Linked DNA regions of Homo sapiens: region 1 is linked to region 2. The links are contacts of gene promoters, found by promoter capture Hi-C in blood cells and fetal thymus (Javierre and others, 2016). All regions are on one chromosome and are shown on one strand. The core of a region is centred on a gene start or on the middle of the fragment in contact, and the rest is flanking DNA. Distances in the headings are between cores, read along the strand shown. Region 1 has its middle 36 kb from the start of MCM5. Region 2 holds the start of RASD2 (RASD family member 2).

The links. Contacts are between HindIII fragments. The CHiCAGO score rates a contact against its expected background, and 5 or more counts as called.
Region 1: a fragment that was not itself captured here is called in contact with the fragment with the promoter of RASD2 in region 2 in 6 of 17 cell types (endothelial precursors, M1 macrophages, M0 macrophages and 3 more); the score reaches 9.8 in endothelial precursors.

Annotation. Positions count from the first base shown.
Region 1 is chr22:35,434,277-35,437,043 of GRCh38, forward strand. It overlaps a transcript of MCM5 not described here. Among named protein-coding and RNA genes, the nearest start is that of MCM5, 36 kb to the left of the region's middle. RefSeq lists an enhancer at 866-1,367. The HindIII fragment of the contact is 2,268 bases long and covers 336-2,603 here.
Region 2 is chr22:35,539,531-35,542,241 of GRCh38, forward strand. It overlaps RASD2 (RASD family member 2), which reads left to right and starts at 1,301. Exons shown (of 3, transcript NM_014310.4): 1 at 1,301-1,970. RefSeq lists enhancers at 1-525, 526-1,088, 1,089-1,651 and a silencer at 773-992. The HindIII fragment of the contact is 7,504 bases long and covers 1-2,711 here.

The DNA.
Region 1 (2,767 bases), core at 220-2,719, 110 kb before region 2:
TTTTTCCCTACTAGCTGGAATGGATTCCGTTGTCTGTCACTGAACCCTGATGATACATCTTCTACACACTGTGTGGGACAAGGCCCCATGGAAGTCCCAAGTCAGTAACCTGAACTCCCCACCCTCTCTGCCAAGAAAGAGCTTTTTTCTCTCAGTATCCATTTATCGGTCCCAGGGGAGCTCTCTGATTGGCTGTGCTTGGGCCAGTCATTATCTCCTGGACCAATCACAGTGGCCAGAGAGATGAGATGCCAAGATCAATTGGTCAGGTCCAGATCATTTCCTGCTTTTGTGACCAGGCGGGAAAGGGCCTATCTCCAGAAGTGGGATGAGAAAGCTTGGGCATTCCTACCACAGCCTGTCTGACAACACCTTTACCCCACAAGGAGGAACTATTAGTGAATGCCACACGGGACACTGCTGTAATGAAACACTGAGGACAGGAGATTATGACAAGAGTCCCACAGTTCCTGCTCATGGGTGATCATGCCTGTTCACCACTAATAGCCTGGGAAGGACGCACAACTGTCCCCATCTTTACCCCGACAATGCTTTGGGTGGGAGGGGGAAACTGAGGCACAGAGGAATGAGGAGGCAGGGCGCGGTGGCTCACGCCTGTAATCCCAGCACTTTGGAAGGTCGAGGTGGGTGGATCACTTGAGGTCAGGAGTTCAAGACCAGCCTGGCCAACGTGGCAAAACCCCATCTCTACTAAAATACAAAAATTAGCTGGGTATGGTGGCAGGTGCCTGTAGTCCCAGTTACTCAGGAGGCTGAGGCAGGAGAATTGCTTGAACCCGGGAGGTGGAGGTTGCAGTGAGCTGGGATAGCACCACTACACTCCAGCCTGGGCGACAGAGCAAGACTCCATCTCAAACAAACAAAAAGGAATGAGGAGGAGGCTGGGAGGCAGGGAGAGAGATGGGAGTTTGAATACAGGCCTCCCAATTTGCTGTGCATTGCTGGACCTGGAGGCAGACAGACCTGAGCTGTGTGTGACCCTGGTGAGGACCTCTGTCTCAGAACCCCAGGGGTCCAGTGTGCAGAGTGACAATGACCCTGGCTGTCTCTCAGGGCCGCGGTGGGGCCTCGATGGGGACTTGGTGGGACAGCATGTGCATGTGTGAAGACACCAGAGGCTCCTCCTGGTGCTGGTGGGACTTGATTCCTCAGGGAGGGGAGGAAGAAGGTGGTGGCCACCGGGCCTTTCAGTGAGGAGGCTTCTGCAGAACAACTCCCCCGTTGCTATGGTGACCAGACTCTCGGGGAGTCTGGCTTATTTTTGAACTTGGTCTACACAGCAGCAGCTTTGTTCCCGGGTCTTCCTGCTGCAGCCTTTGTCCTGTGGGCTTGTCGCCTGAAGCCTTGGCACAGTGGGTCTGAGTGGGACACAACCCTGGCCAGGAGGGGCAGGCAGAGGGAGGGGGAGACCCAGTAGGCACCCCCTGCCAGCCTCCCTAACTTGGCCTTGGAGGCGGAGGCCTGGGTTCTAGTCCTGCATCTGCTGCAGGCCTGCTGGGCAACCTCTCGGGCATGTCTGCTTGAGAGGGAAAAGGAGAGGGTATTTTTTGCTGTGCTTCCCCCAGTTGAATGAAAATGGAAGGAAATGGCCGGGCGCGGTGGCTCACGCCTGTAATCCCAGCACTTTGGGAGGCCGAGGCGGGCGGATCACCTGAGGTCGGGAGTTCAAGACCAGCCTGATCAACATGGAGAAACCCCATCTCTACTAACAATACAAAAATTAGCTGGGCATGGTGGTGCATGCCTGTAATCCCAGCTACTCGGGAGGCTGAGGCAGGAGAATCGCTTGAACCTGGGAAGCAGAGGTTGTGAACTGAGATCGCACCACTGCACTCCAGCCTGGGCAACAAGAGCAAAACTCAGTCTCAAAAAAAAAAAAAAAAAAAGAAAAAAAGAAAATGGAGGGAAAATGGCTAGCCCCGATGGGTCCAAGATGGTGTTTGGGACCCCTGCCCTCCCCGGCCTGGATCCAGCTCTTAACAGCCTCCCCACCCACAGACCGCATGGGCCCCAGAGGCTTCATGCTCCTGCTTCTCTGACCTTCCGCAGCTTCCAGGCCTCGCCACTACCTCCACACGCTGTTACATGTGACAGCATCCAGGCTTGGAGTTCAGCCCCTTCCTCAGTTTCCACCAAAGCCCTCTCTTATGTGCAAGGCTTTATTGAAAGCTGGGCAGAAGGGGCACCTGGGGGCTTCACGTTTTCTATGAGGGGGCCCTGCTGTTTCTACTCCTTTGCCAGCGCCCACTGCACCCTGCACATCTCATGGGCCGGGGCTTCTGGCCTTTTTCCATCTCCCTGGCTTCGTGCCCTCTCCCCCTCAATTCCCCCCTTCACTCTTGTGCAGAGCTGCTCAGCTCTCCCCAGCCCTGGCTTTCTGCCCCTGCATCACCTTCCCATGTCCAAACCCATTGGGGCAGGGCCACAGGCCATTCTGGGTCAGGACCCTGTCCTAGGAAGGCAGCCTGGCTGTAATCATATCCCCACCCGACCTTCACAAACAAATGAGAAGGGGCTGGCAAAGTGCCCTTGGGATTATGGGGTGGGTAGAAAAGACGTTTATCTGTGGGCCTAGAAACCCAAGCTTTGCCAGGGGGAGAGTCAGTTCGCAGATGAGGATGGAAGGGTGACTTCACAAAGCCAGATGGAGAGGGGTCCCAAGACTCAGCCTCGCGTCACTAGGGCCACCTCCTTCAGAGGACATGAGGAGGCCATTGGCCTGGATCCTCCAGAAATTTCTCTGAAC
Region 2 (2,711 bases), core at 51-2,550:
CTCTGTTAGGTGCTAATGGGTATTTAACACCTCTCCAAACCTTGCCAATCTCCCTTTTTCACTGAGGGCACACATCTCAAGCCTTGGCAGGCCACGGTTTCCAGCTGGAATTTAATAACCTTGCTTTGTTTTCACTGTGCTTATTTTAACTCTTACTTTCTATTTATGGCAAGTGATACTGATTTCCCATTTAAGGCAGTGATATAATGATTCTCTAAAAAAACGTGTTTAAGGGGTGGGGAAAGTGGATCTGATATTTTAAAAAATATATTAAGTAATAAGTGGTGTGGAGATATGGCCCAGTGAGAAGGCCCGATGTCTGGCCTAGGTCAAGCCCCTCATTTAAAGGTGGGGAGGGAGAATGCAGGCAGGAGACGCAATGCTCAAGGCACCTGGTGTGTCCCCGTCGGCCGTGGTCTCTGAGACTCGCATGCCTCGAAGACCTCTGGCTACTAAGCCTAGGTGACTCCCCGCCCCTCTGGGCGACACGTGCATGGCCCATGTGCCAGTCCGCAGGGTCCCGTGGGCACCGTGAGCTCGGGAGGGAGGCGGCGGCTGGGACAGGCAGGTTGGACACCTGGGAGGGCACCCGGGGACTTCCGCGAAGGAGGAGGGCGCTGGAACCGTGGCGCGCTCGACCTGGCCGGGCGCAAGCCGCTGGAGACCCCGGCCGAGTGGGCAGGCGGCCGGACCCCATGCGGGTCACCTGCGGCCAGGCCGGGCGTGCGTGTGAGCGCGTGCGCAGACGTCAGCCTCCGAGGCCCGGGCCGCCTTCTGGGCAAGGTGCGCGCGCCCAGCGGCCCCGGCCCCACGCGCCCGGACACGCGGAACCGCAGACCGCGGCGCCCCGGAGGCCGCGAAAGGGATGGGCGGGGCCGGGCCGCGGGACCCGCCTCCCATTGGCCGGGCGCCGGGGCGAGGCGGGGCGCCGGGGTGGGGCGGGGCGAGCGGGCTCTGGGGGGCAGACGCTGGCGCTGGGCGGCGGGAGGCGCGGCTCGCGGGGGGCCGAAGGAGCAGGTGGGCGACGCTCGCAGGGGCGCGGGAGGGTGCCGCTGGGACCGTCATCAGGAGCCTGGGGTTCTGCCACCTTTCGGAGGGATCAGCGACCTCTTCGCCCTGCGGGTGACAGTGGGGCATCTGCCTGCGAGAGGGGGAAGGAGGGAGAACCCAGGGCCACACACAAAGTTCTCCTCATCTGGGGACAGGAGGAGGTGAAGGAGGAGGAGCCGGGTTGATGCTAACTTGGAGCTGCGAAACCTTGGGGCGGCGTTCAAGGCCCCCTCCCACACGCGCGCAGAGCAGAGCGCCCTGCTCCTCCTTCAGCTGCTGGCGTCGCCGCGCGGGGAGAAAGAAGCCGTCCCTCCGGCGCTGGGAGAGCTGCAGAGCCGCGGGCAGAGAAGGAGGCCGCGGCCGAGCCCGGCAGCCCGATACCCCCCATCCGAGCGACCCCCTTTGGGGCAGGCGGAGAAGGTGGCATAGGCGACCAGGAGGGTTCGCCCACCTGGGACACGCACCCACAGTCACCTCCAAAGGACCCCCCCTCCCCAAGTCTCTAGGAGCTGCTCCTTCATCACTGGAGTCGCCCCTACCTCTCTGCCCCCAGCCCGAGAGCCCCAGGCGGGGACCCCCGGATCGGACGTCCCCAAGCCTCCGGGCACCTGGCTCAGCAGGAGGCCCCCGGCTCGGGGCAGGGCAGGGCCGGCGGCGGCGAGCCGGAGCCCGCCCCCTGCCCGGGCCCCGCCGAGCCCTCGGAGCCCACCCATGGGGCACCTGCCCCTTGCGCCTCCTTGCCCGGCCGCGCCCAGCCCGGCGTCCCGAGCAGCGCAGGGGAGGATCCCCGCGCAGTGACCCGGGAGCCACCACAGACTCTGGGAGGCTCGGCGGCTGGAGCAGCAGGCAGCTCCCCGCAGCTCCCGGCGCTTCCAGGCAGCTCTCTGAGCCGTGCCAGAGGCCCGGCCCGCCATTCCCAGGTAGGAGACGCCCCAACAGAGCTGGGCATCTGGGGGAAGTGGAGCAGCCGGGAAGAAAGGGTAGAGGCTTGGAGGAGGAAAGCTCAGTGATTCCTTAGATGACCAGAGAAAGTGAAATTGATTGAGCACCTACTATGTGCCGGGATCGTCTGGCAACTTTGCATACCTAGAGAGAATTAAATTCGTTGAGCACCTACTGTATGTGTCAAACTGAGTGCTATACCCTTGACTTAATCCCAGGAAAGAAAGATTTATTGAGCTTCTACTATGTGCTAGTTTTGGTGCCACAGGCTTTGCATTTAAAGAGCTAGAGTAATAGCCCATTTAAATAGGAGGAAACGGGGGCTCAGGGAAGACGAGTCAACTACCACAAACACTCCTGTCCCTCTTCTGGAGCTGGCTGCAGCCTGCATTACCTGGAGGTGGGGAAGGAAGATTAAGAAGCTCCTTCGTTATCCAGAGTTCTTGAGCTTTTTCTGGGTTGGTGCAGAGTGAGTTTCCTGGATGATTCCCTTCCCAGGAGGGGTTTCCTGTAACTTAGCTGTCTTGGAGGGCCCGGAAGGCAGCTCTGGAGGCCTCTCTGTGCCCTCCCCTCCCCTTGTCCCCAGCACCAGGAGGATGACAGGGGATGTTGTCCAAGACCTCATGGAAGGTGGGAAGCCAGGCTGGGAGGGAGCAGCCAGGTCAGGAGCCAGTGAATCAAGCCTCCTGTGGTGTCAGAGACAAGATGGGGTCCCTGCA